Linked DNA regions of Homo sapiens: region 2 is linked to region 1. The links are contacts of gene promoters, found by promoter capture Hi-C in blood cells and fetal thymus (Javierre and others, 2016). All regions are on one chromosome and are shown on one strand. The core of a region is centred on a gene start or on the middle of the fragment in contact, and the rest is flanking DNA. Distances in the headings are between cores, read along the strand shown.

Region 1 (6,394 bases), core at 1,144-3,643:
TCTCCTTTCCTACCTTTAAGAGACATCATTAATCACTTCTTATTTTGGGCTCCAACAAAGGCCAAAATAAGGAGGGTTCAACTCATTAGTACAGCATGAATTACATCGTTTTACAATAGTTAAAACCTACCAAGAAAACACTCCTCCTTTCCCCTGTCAAAAAACTACAAATCCTAAAAAAAAAAAAAAATAACCAAGCTGTAGTCTTTTATCCACTGTACTTGGTAAGGATCTTATCATTTAACAAGCACTCAATCAATGTTTCTCAATATTAACAAATGCACAAATAGAATTGGCTTGGATATTATACATTAGATGCACGTGCAAAGACATAAACTCACCCTCTACTTCCAGTACCTGTTCTCACTGAAGAGCCAATAATGGGACAGGTTTATTTTGAAGCACACATCCACACACATGCACTCACACATATATGGTTGGGGGTTTGGTTTCCTGAATTTCTGGCTTCAGACACTACCTGCCTGTATCAAGTCAGGGCCGTGGCACGAACCAGACGGCACATTGAAATTTGAGGAGAGTTTAATAAACAGACGGCTTACAATGGTGTTGGCTCGGGGTAAGGAAATCACAATGGATAAGGCTCTATCCTGGGGAGTGACAGGGAGGTGCCATTATAATACCTGGGCCTTAAGAGGTAAGGGGAGGGAGCAGTCCCTGGAGCCTGGAACTAAGAGGACTGTGTGGCCAGGGCCACCCAAACTATGACCTGTTGTTTAGAAGGGCAGCTAATCTGTGACAATCCTGCAGAGAGAGAACTGGGGGACAAGATACTCCAACTCACACTTCTTCCTCTCTCCAAACTTTCCTGTTGAGACTTCCCATTGGCCAAAGACAAGCAAGGCCAGAAGGCAATGGCGGCCTTTCAGGGCAGACAGCAGGGTGGAAAAGGTGGGGAGCCAAAGGCATGGGACACATGGCACCTCAAGACTCTTGTTTTTTCCCTATCTGCCAAAGTCCACACAGCTCTCGCACACAAATGCCTTTCTCATCCCTCACCCTGACAACTACTCTGATCTGAGGAATGCATCAGGAATGAGACCAGATGCCCATATCAACTTCTTCAGGGAATGAAGACCTAGAGGAAAAGTGCAGCTGAATCTGGAACTGCAATTGCCCAGAAACACGATCAGAAATGTAATAAATGCTGCTATTACACCTAAAATAATTAACACTAAATCTCTAACTTTATCAAATATACAGAGAGTGTTCAAACTTCAAATTTGTTGAGTGTAATTTAACAACTTATATTTGCTAATGTGCTTTATAATACTCAAAGTCCCTACTCCCTGGCTCACAGCATGTGAGGTGAGAATGGAGTTAATAATTTGGGGCAGTTCTTTTCTTTTCTTTTTTCTTTGAGACAGAGTCTGGCTCTGTCGCCCAGGCTGGAGTGCAGTGGCGTGATCTCAGCTCACTGCAAGCTCCGCCTCCCGGGTTCACGCCATTCTCCTGCCTCAGCCTCCCGAGTAGCTGGGACTACAGGCGCCTGCCACCGTGCCCGGCTAATTTTTTGTAATTGTTTTTTGTAGTAGAGACGGGGTTTCACCGTGTTAGCCAGGATGGTCTCGATCTCCTGACCTCGTGATCCGCCCACTTTGGCCTCCCAAAGTGCTGGGATTACAGGCGTGAGGCACCGCGCCAGGCCTGGGACAGTTCTTTTCAAAATGTATTCGGTGACATTAAACTCTGGAGTTATTACAGTATTACAGTCTGAGTTGTTTCTTTATTGCCAAAAGCCAGAACCTCTGCCTTGAAGTCATAAATGCCCCAATGGAGTCAGAGCTGCCAAAATCCAGAGTTCAGACCCAAGACAACTCCCCATCCAAGAACCTAGGGGTGCTGAGCCAGAATCGCCCCCACCAAACTGAGCGAGAACAGCCGAAGCCATCCTCTATATCCAGAGACTAGCTGCTTAAGCAAATCCCTCATCCCATTCAGGGACGCACAGTCCAGCCATTACTCCAAAACCCTGAGCCAGCGCCCCTCTGCCCTCATCCAGAGATGCACATCCCAAGACTGACCCTAAGCTTCGACCCGAGGAGGCACAGCGCAAGTCGCTGTCACGAAACGTGAAGATGCACTGTTTTGTCAAACCCAGGGCTGCTCCCCAAACCGAGCCCACGCTCGAGCCCACGCTCTTCCCATCCTATCCCGGGTAGGTCGGGCCGCTGAACTTCCCTAGTCTACCCCACCTACGAGGCCTTATCATTGGTTACCAGTCCCCTCTTCCACTCCTCCTACTTCAGTCCACAGGGACGGGTCACAGCTGCACATCCTACACTCCTACTCCTGGCTACGCCTCCAAGAGGGGCGCGGTACAGACGGGACTCACCCCAGCGTCCCAAACAATGTCGCCCGCAGCGTGCGTCCAGTACCATGGCGCATGCGCAAGGAGGCCTATGGCCTACAATCCCCAGAAAGCCCCGCGCGCAGCAGTGGCCATTCGCAAGGCTACCCTGGTGAAGGTGGCCTTTGACTTCCGTGCATTTGGAAGTCCTTTGACTTCCGTGCATTCGTCTAAAATAACGACAATCATAATAACGATAAAATAATGAAATGTTAAATAAATCACTATCAACGATGAAAAGAAGTTTCAATATTTTACTACTTGGAAATGGGCACTTTACCGTTTTAGTGAAGACTTTTATAAGTTCTTATTTTATAGGCATGTCTTTTAACGTTAAAACCACGAAACTTTTCAATTAACACTCACTTAAATAATTCCCTCCCCGCCCCCCACCATGTTTTATTTCTGTTGATGAAAACTCTGGATAATCTACACTTGCGATATAACATAGCCCTGTAATTTATTTCCTAGTCTCAGAAGAAGCAGAAGGAATTAACAACTATTGTCTGAATCCTTAACAGGGGAATTGCAGGAGTACTGAGAGTGTCCTAAAAGAGACACATTACAACATAACAAGAAAACGCGGGAAGTTTTCAGATTCTTTTTGAAAATTTGCCCTTGTTGAGACTTAGGCTTTATTTTACTTCATGTTATTGCATTTAAGATTTAAGATTTCTATTAAAGAAAAATTTGGGTACCCTAAATGGGGTAAGAAAATTGAATAGGAATTCCATTAGAGGCCCACAGTTTTAGCCTGGAGGAAAGCCCTGATAACGTGTGAGAACAATCTGTCTCCTAGGAAAGGTCACCTGGTCCTGCTGGCAGAGTCTCTGTTTGGAATATCTGGCTGGCATTCCCTTTTCCACGCACCCTCAAGCTGTAGGGGTGGTGAGGCGGTTCCAGTCCTAGACTAGATAGAGAAGTGAAGACCCCCACCTCTACGCAATGGGCAGGAAATGGTTGAATAATATCCAACTATAGCTTGACATCGCAGCTTAGGGCACATAAAGGGACAGTGCAATTGTTTTGGCTTATCTCTGTCTTTTGATGTTTACATGTTTGATGTTCTTATATATTGCTCTAAGTTGAAGGATTACTTGATTTAATTTGACATACTTGAATTTTAAAAAACGAGTTCAGGAACATTTTTATTTTTGACCTAATACAAGGTTAATTTTTGTGACATCTGTGTCTGTTGGAAAACAATGTGTCTTCTCTATCAGATGGATATGCATACATTTATATTTTCCCCAGACTTGCTAACTGTGCTATTTAAATTTCCTACATGCTTATTTGTGCTTACTTAGATTTTTTCATTATGCATCTGTCAACGATTGAAAAGTGCATGTCAAAAAGGTTCCCAGTCTGGGCGTGGTGGCTCAAGCCTGTAATCTCAGTACTTTGGGAGGCCGAGGTGGGCAGATCACGCGGTGAGGAGTTCAAGACCAGCCTGGCCAAGGTGGTGAAACCCCATCGCTACTAAAAATACAAAACTTAGCCAGGCATGGTGGCAAGCACGTGTAGTCCCAGCTACTTGGGAGGCTGAGGCAAGAGAATCACTTGAACCCAGGAGGTGGAGGTTGCAATGAGCCGAGATCATGCCACTGCACTCCAGCCTGGGCGACAGAGCAAGACTCTGTCACCAAAAAAAAAGAAAAAAGAAAAAAGTGAAAGAAAAAAAAGCCTATAATGGTAAATTTGTCATTTTCCTCTCTATAGCATTTGCTTTATTTATTTATTTATTTATTTATTTATTTATTTCCTTTATTTTTTTTTTGAGACTGAGTCTCGCTCTGTTGCCCAGGCTGGAGTGCAGTGGCGCCATCTCAACTCACTGCAAGCTCTGCCTCCCAGGTTCACACCATTCTCCTGCTTCAGCCTCCCGAGTAGCTGGGACTACAGGTGCCCGCCACCAGGCCCAGCTAATTTTTTTGTATTTTTAGTAGAGACAGGGTTTCACCGTGTTAGCCAGGATGGTCTCCATCTCCTGACCTTGTGATCTGCCCACCTCGGCCTCCCAAAGTGCTGGGATTACAGGCGTGAGCCACCATGCCCAGCCTGCTTCATTTTTCAAAAGTCAAGTTACTAGGTATACAAATGGCTTTACTTTTTAAAAGTTGTGTTGTTAGGTATGGAAGTGTTGTATTCCTTATCTGAAATACTTGGGACCAGAAGTGTTTCAGATATTTTATTTTTTTCAGATTTTGCAATATTTGCATATACGTAATGAGATATCTTGAGGATGAGACCCAAGTCTAAATGCAAAATTCATTTGTGTTCCATATAAACCTTATACATGTAGCCTGAAATTAATTTTATAGAATTATTTTGAATAATTTTGTTCACAAGGTTTGTATACAATGTTTGTGTGCATTGAACCATCAGAAGCAAAGATTGCCTTCGTCAGATGACCAAAGAAAAATCAATGAAAAGAACAGAAAGAAAGCAAATACTTCAGGTGTGGAATTTTCCACTTGTGGTGTCATGTTCACATTCCAAAAGTTTTAGATTGTGAAACATTTTGGATTTTAAAATTTAGTGATGCTGACCCTGTGTAAGTTTCATAATGTTCATATCTTCTTGATGGGCCAAAAATTTCGTTAACAATTTTAAGTATTTTGTATTTTCACCTTGAGTTTACTTTTCAGTGAAGACTGTACCTGCTTTCTTTTCATTAGATTTCATCTAGTATTTATTCTTTCATTTTGTCTTAAAATTAGTATATTTCTTTACCTTATTATTTATATACTCTTTATTATTATAGTTATTTTTAAATGTTACTTTTACCTAATCTAAGAGCTTGGCTTTAGTCTGAAAATCCACACTTAAATGGGTGTGTTAAGAACAAAAGAGAAAGCTCTTGTATAATTGATCTAGGAGCTGCTCATACTTCCCAACTGTAGAACAGTGAATCTGGCCTGTAATCCTAGTTGCTCAAGCAGCTGAGGTGGGAGGATGGCTTGAGCCTGGAAGGTTCAGGGTGTAGTGAGCTATGATGGTGCTACTGTACTCCAGCTTGGGTGACAGCATGAGATCTTATGTCTGAAAAAATAGAACAGTGACCCTCAAACAGGAATGAAATAGCCTCCCTAAGACTTTTTTGAATTGTGTGAGTGATCTTTGCTTGCTCCAGTGACTGGGGTATGTGTTTAGTATGCAGAGGTAAGGAATGCTAAACATATTGCACTTGTAAATTAATTCTCTCAACAAAGAAGTCATCCATTCAAATACCCAACAGTAACCCCTTGAAAATCACTGCTCTAAAGGAAAGAAAATGAACAACAATAACCTCAATCAAATAAAAGGAGGGAAAGAAACAATCAAATCAGTAAAGAGAAAGTCAAACTGCTGCTGTTTGCTGATGATATGATCATATACCTAGAAAACCCTAAAGACTCCTTCAAAAAGCTTCTAGAACTCATAAATGAATTCAGCAAAGTTTCAGGATACAAAATTAATGTACACAAATCATAGCTCTGTTGTACACCAAAAGCAACCAAGCTAAGAATGAAATCAAGAACTCAACCCCTTTTACAACAGCTGCAACAAAAAATACATAGGAATATTTCTAACCAAGGAGGTGAAAGACCTCTCTACAAGGAAAACTACAAAACACTGTTGAAAGAAACCATAGATGACACAAACAAATGGAAACACATCCCATGTTTATGAATGGGTAAATCAATATTGTAAAAATGACCATACTGCCAAAAGCTGTTTACAAATTCAATGCAAGTTCCATCAAAATACCACCATCATTCTTTCCAGAACTAGAAAAGACAATTCTAAAATTCATATGGAACCAAAGAAGAGCCCGCAGAGCCAAAGCAAGACTAAGTAAAAAGAACAAGTCTGGAGGCATCACATTACCTGACTTCAAACTATACTATAAGGTTGTAGCCACCCAAACAGCATGGTACTGGTATAAAAATAGGTACAAAGACCAATGGAACAGAATAGAGAACCCAGAAATAAATCCAAATACTTACAGCCAACTGATATTTGAAAAAACAAACAAAAACATAA
Region 2 (6,394 bases), core at 1,067-3,566, 47 kb after region 1:
AATGGGAATAAGAGATAATTGCAGAGGTAGAAATAACAAAACTAAAAGAATAATTCCATGTAGGGATGAAGAGGAGGAGAAATAAATATGATTCTGAGGTTGAAGTCTGAGGAAAACAGGTAAATTATGAAGTTATGATAAAATAATAAGATAGCAAAAGGGAAAGCAGGGTTTTGAAAATTGCAGCTCTAGTTTCTCAAAACTGGAGTTATCAAAAGGTTTAGGTTCGAATTCTGGTTCAGCCACTTTGTAGTTATATTAACACCACAGGAGAGACTTAACCTTTTGAATGAGTCTGTACTTCTGTCAAATAAAGATAATCCTTACTTGCAAAACTAAAATAATTTAAGTTTTTCTCTCTTTCACACACACATGCCTATGTGAATAAACTTCAAAGCCCAGTACGTGGTACACAGAAAATCATCAATATACTATTACCATTGACCCAACCCAGCATTAACCTAGGAATACAGGAACTCATGCATTTAGTAAATGTACATTCAGTGTCTAACAACATCTTAGGAGAATAAACACTAGACATACAGCAGTAAATTAAGATGGAAAAGGTAATTGTTCTCATGGTGCTTACTTTCGGGTGGGTTAATCTCTCTACAAATTAGGTGACCTTTGGTTGCAAAAAGGGCTATGAAGAAAATAAAGCAAACATGATAGATTCCTGTTTTCCAACAAGAATGTAGGTGCTATCAGGTGAACATATGTGGCAGCTGTGGAAAGAGCAACATTAAATCAGGTGGTCAGGGACAGTCTCTAAGAGCTGCCTGACAAATAAATCAGCTGTGAAAAAAGCTGGGATGAGACAAGTCCAGAAGGAAGCATAAGCGCAAAGACCTGGTTTCTGTTTAGAAGGTCTCCTGGCCAGGTCTTACCTGTTAAGTTTTTTTAACTTTTTAAACCTTAGCAACTCATCTGTGACATGGGGATAATAGCTAACATACAAACTTGCTCAGAAAATTCAATAGAAATACATTCATTTATTCAAATATTTATTGGCAAGCCTGGCACTGTCCTAGACACCATGGATAAATAATACCTGGCATATAGTAAGCACTCAGTTAATATACACCATCACAGTTACTCTAATTATTTCTACCCTGCGTTTCTTCAGCATGGCGCTGAAACAGTGTAAGCCTTTACTGACCCAGTGACACACTACTAGGAGCCAAGAAGAGAATACACTAAATAAAGACACTGGGAAATTCCTCAAACCTCCCCCATTTCTAGGGGAAGGCAGGTGTGGCTAAGGGGTCTGAATGAACATTTGTGATATCAATGGGATGAAGAATGAGGTCACCAAGAGACCTGGCATTGCCACAAAAGAGAACCAAAGTTCACTCACCTGGAGCTCTAGTGTCAAGAGATGTGGGGTTATTTCTCCTTCTTTTATACAATTATCTCCGAGAAACGAACAATTCCAAGAAGGAAGCCTGTGAAAGAAAAATGAACAGCAGGATAACATGATTTAATCCCAATTCCCACCACGCCACAGGGGGAAATCTCTCAGTGCCAGCTGGATGTAATCTACCCCTTCCTGTAATCTACCCTCGCTACTTGCTTCAGGAGCCGAGGAAAAGAACCTCTCTTCCTACAGGACTCAGAGTACAAGGGACACGCCATTCCTGATGCCCAAAGAAACCGTCTACAAGCCTACTTTCACTGCCCCTTTCAGGAGACAAGGAGAATCAAGACAAAATCTCAAGATTTTAATCCAGAGCTGACTGTCACATGCTGTGGGACACTTACAAGTGAAATTCTGCCTGTGTGTGCTTAGGCGGCTACAAAAAGCAGAGCCAGCAACGATACAGCAAACCAACTCCTAGGACTTGCACAGCGCTTAATACATTTCAAAGGATAAAATTAGAACACAGGGAATCAACTTCCTGTTTACAGAAATGACTTCGCAGAAAACTCTGAAATTACTCCACAAGTGGGTGGGCGGCTACCCTGAGAAAATTCATGTCATCGATCCGCAACTGACACAGTGGAGTCTCCCGCACTGCAGATCTCATCTCAAAGCCAGAGCTGGCCTCAAACTGCTTTTCCAAGCCTGGACTGCGAGGGCTGCCGACCCGGGCCCACCCCGCACAGGCGCTCAGAATGTTCGATACGTGCGCCTCCTTACACCCCTGCCTCACCAGGCCGAGCTCATGGAAATCCGTGGGCTTCGACCCTCCGCCGCACGTTGTCCCTTCACACTGGTCCTATAGAGCCGATCCTAATTCCCATGGCCTGACAGTACAACCGCATGGAGATGCACGTCTCTAAGACGCCTCACCACTGCCTAAGAAGCAATCAAGGTGACGCGCCCACCGGAAACGGAAGTAGTCGACTCGAGGTGTGGGACTACCTTTCCCAGAACCCTCCGCAGCGCAGTCCGATCCTAGGGGCGATGGTGTCGTAAATGCGCGTCCACCTCGAGTCACGCCCACTGCGAGGCGGCGGGAGGCGGCATGCAAGGTGTTTCTGAGTTGAAAAGAATGTCTTTACTCAGTACTAACATATTCGCGTTGTAGCAAACCTGACTATATTCTCAAACAAGCCCATCATCCCATCACCAGGGATATAAAGCATTATTGATTTTCTGGTGTAAAAGCCAACTAAATATTTATTTCAAAAGTAGTTCATATTACATGTAAAGAATGGTTTAAAAAAAATTCTTACTTAATCCCTGGTTTATGTGAGTAAATATGAATTCTTAAGAATCCCATTTCCCAAATGGCATCATAATATTTTGTAATCATTTCTTGCCACAGGTCATATATCGTGGATAGTTCTGTATGTCACAAAAGACGTAGAGATACATAGAGATAATAAAAAAACACAAATTATTTGCAATACTTGCCTAGCATTCTTTAGTTTTTAGGGAAGTTACCCCTTTGTCCTGCATTGAACTTACACTTCTAATTTTATGATATCAAAACTACACACAATCACTTTCTTTAATATTTTCCCAATTTGATGGACTAAATATCCTGTCTTATTTTCCCAATTTGACAGAGTAAATATGCTTATTACCGATTGCATTTCATTGTCATCTTTTATTGTCATACACTCTCTGTGTATGAATGATATCGCTTCTAAGTGATGAATTGCTCCCCCAGTTTCAACATTTATAAAGTAGTTTAGAAAAAAAAAAAAACAAAAAACTTCATCTGACAAGGTATATCAGTCTTTTCATTTGTGGCTTCTTTTTTTTCTCCAGTATGACCAAAAAGACATTCCTTAGCCTGATTCCCAATAAGTGCATATCTATATTCATTTCAGGCTCTTTCATTTTTCTTTTGAATCACCGCGTGATTCATTTAAGTGTATGATATGAAAGGAAGATGGAGTTTCCTGTTTCACCAAAGGATTGTCTACTTTTCTTAACAAAATTTACATAAATATTAATTCTTTCCTTTCTGATTTAAACGGCATCCTAATCACTTACTACATTACTATATATATAATGAAATATTTTCTGGGATACAAGTGTGTTCTGAAGATAGAGATTGCTTTTTCTGTGCCATGATGAAAGGTTTCAGTTACAGTGATAACTCATTTCCTTATCTCTCCCTCCTTGTTGTGTTTCAAAAATTTCATCCTAGAAGTTCTAGAACTCTCTCTTATAAACAGATTATCGAATTGTTTTGATAAATTCTAAAAAATTGCCAATTGACTCCAAAGCATCCAAGCCCTTCAGATATTTGGTTCCAAACCCACCCCTCTTTGCTTGGGTAGACACAGTCCTACTTCCCATCCTGTGTCCTCCAGTTTTACAAATGTCTGAATTTGCTGCTATTGTTCTTCCCTCTGTAAGTCCATCCTTTCCTGTACTATTAAAATCTTACTCCATATTTAAGACACAACTTGAATATAATTTCCTCTATCGAGTGTTTTTGAACTCTATATCATAATTCAATGAACAGATCAGTCTGTGATTGGGAGAATTTCATGCGAGTGTAGTGGATGTTAAATACCACTCTCAGAACATTCTCATTTCCCCGAGAAATCAATAAATTATATTACTCTGGGATCCAGCAACACATGGTTTAAATTGCTGGTTACCACCTTTCACATGGCCTCCATGGTCAGATCTCTAAGTCATCAAAATAATTGACTCTTCTTTTTCTTTATTTTCTTTATTTACCTTTCATGGCTCTGGCACATGGGAAGCACTTAAGCAATTCAATCAAGTGTCTTGGCCGGGCACGGTGGCTCATGCCTGTAATCAGAGCACTTTGGGAGGCCGAGGCAGGCAGATCACGAGGTCAGGAGATCGAGACCATCCTGGCTAACACGGTGAAACCCCATCTCTACTAAAAATACAAAAAAGAAAACAAAAAAAATTAGCCGGGCATGGTGGGGGGTGCCTGTAGTCACAGCTAGTCAGGAGGCTGAGGCAGGAGAATAGTATGAACCCGGGAGAAGGAGCTTGCAGTGAGCCGAGATCAAACCACTGCACTCTAGCCTGGGCGACAGCGCAAGACTCCATCTCAAAAAATAATAATAATAAAATAAACATAAAAATAATTATTTTAAAAAGGTGTCTTGACCTGGAAGCTAAGAGCCAACCTGCACAAAGTGTGGGTAGATGAATCCATTCCAAGGCCCAAGGTAAATATTCAGCCTTCATCCTACCTCATACAAACTGCAAAACACTGTAGAAACCGTGTGTCAACTGAATTTGAAACTGCTGTAATTTCCGACTCCCTAACAGTTTTGTTATTGTTAAGAAAAAATAACCCAATTTTAAGTAGGCAAGGTATTTCCGTAGACATATCTTAAACGAAAATAAACAAATAGGCAAGAGACACATGAAATGACTCTCCACATCCTCAGTCATTAGGGAAATGGAAGTCAAAACAATGGTGCTACTTCACACTCACTAGAATGGTCAGGATTGAAAAGCAGAAAATAGGCTGGGCACAGTGGCTCACGCCTGCATCCCAGAACTTTGGGAGGCTGAGGTGGGCGGATCACCTGAGGTCTGGAGTTCGAGACCAGTCTAGCTAACATGGTAAAGCCCCTTTTCTACTAAAAATACAAAAAATTAGCTGGGTGTGGTAGCATGCATCCGTAATCCCAGCTATTCGGGAGGCAGAGGTTGCAGTGAGCCGAGATCGCACCACCGCACTCCAGCTTGGGCAACAAGAGTGAAACTAAATCACACACACACACAAAAAAAAAACAGAAAATAAAAAATGCTGACGATCATGTAAAGAAGCTGTAACATTCCGGCACTGCTGGTAGGAATTTCAAAATCTACAGCCATATTGGAAAATAATCTGGAAGATCCTCAACATGTTAAACATCATAGAAGTCTCCAAATGATGCAGCAATTCCACACCTAGGTATGAACCAAGAGAAAACATTTGTCCAAACTAAATATTGTACAGGAGTGTTCATAGCAGCATTATTCAAAGAAGTAGAAATCCATCACCTTAAACGGGTGAATCTTATCCAGGGCATCCACGTGGAGACAGGGGCAGACACAGGGAAAGAGAATGAGGAAATGTCTGAAATGGAGGCCGAAAGAGAGACAATGAGAAGGCCTGTGAATGGAAGAAACCGAGCGCAGGGAAAACAGTCATACGTATACATCAGAGATCTGAGAACGCGGGATCATACCGACAGTGTCACTGCCAGGAAAGGGGGTCAAGCTAGGGATGTCCCCGGTGGCGTCGCCCGCAGAAACACGGACAGGTTTGGGGTTCACGCTGGCACGGGCGCCAGCAGCCACGTCAGCAGGCAGGAGGGTCCCACTGCACAGCTGAGGGGTGATGATAGCCCAGGTGGTGATGTCGGCCATCAGAGGGGCCTCTCCTGCCAGCAAATGTGTGACAGTAGCAAGTAAAAGGACAGGTCTTTGTGTGAGGCCGGAATGCGGGAAGGGCTCTTCTGTGGCTGAGTGTGGAGTCCTCAGCAGGAATGTGGATAAATGGCCAGGTAACTGCATCACGTTGGCTAGGAGGATGGCAAGGACTTCGAGCTGAATGATGATAACGGGGAGTGACTGTGAGACCCTGCGAGGCTCTGAGTGTAAAAGAAGATGGGTGCGGGGCCCCAGGGGAGTATGTGGGAGCCACTGCTGTGTAGATGGAGGTCGTTGGGGAAGAATCTGGTGAGCTCTGTGAATTTCCAGGGGTCTCCTGTGTGCTGGGGGCTGACTCTTGCAGAAAACTGGGGATGGTTGGAGAGTAGCTGGGAGACAGGAAAGAGACCCTAAGGAATGGCGGTACAAAGGTCAGAGAGGAGCAGGAGGAGCACGGTGAGGTCTGTGAGTTTCCAGGTGAGTCCTGTGTGTTAGGGGCTGGCCCCAGGAGAAATCTGGGGATTGTTGGAGAGGAGCAGGGGGATGCTGGAGAGTCTCTGAGGGATGGGGATGCAGAGATGG

Evidence for each region. The method cuts DNA at HindIII sites, captures the fragments that hold promoters and counts their contacts. A CHiCAGO score of 5 or more calls a contact.
Region 2: a contact is called between the fragment with the promoter of ZNF229 here and the fragment with the promoter of ZNF285 in region 1, in 2 of 17 cell types (neutrophils and erythroblasts). The highest score is 7.2, in neutrophils.

The regions. Positions count from the first base shown.
Region 1 is chr19:44,399,215-44,405,608 of GRCh38, forward strand. ZNF285 (zinc finger protein 285) reads right to left here and starts at 2,394. Exons shown (of 4, transcript NM_152354.6): 1 at 2,354-2,394. RefSeq lists an enhancer at 1,791-2,547. The HindIII fragment of the contact is 3,728 bases long and covers 2,047-5,774 here.
Region 2 is chr19:44,446,156-44,452,549 of GRCh38, forward strand. ZNF229 (zinc finger protein 229) reads right to left here and starts at 2,317. Exons shown (of 6, transcript NM_014518.4): 1 at 2,154-2,317; 2 at 1,358-1,445. The HindIII fragment of the contact is 11,359 bases long and covers 1-6,394 here.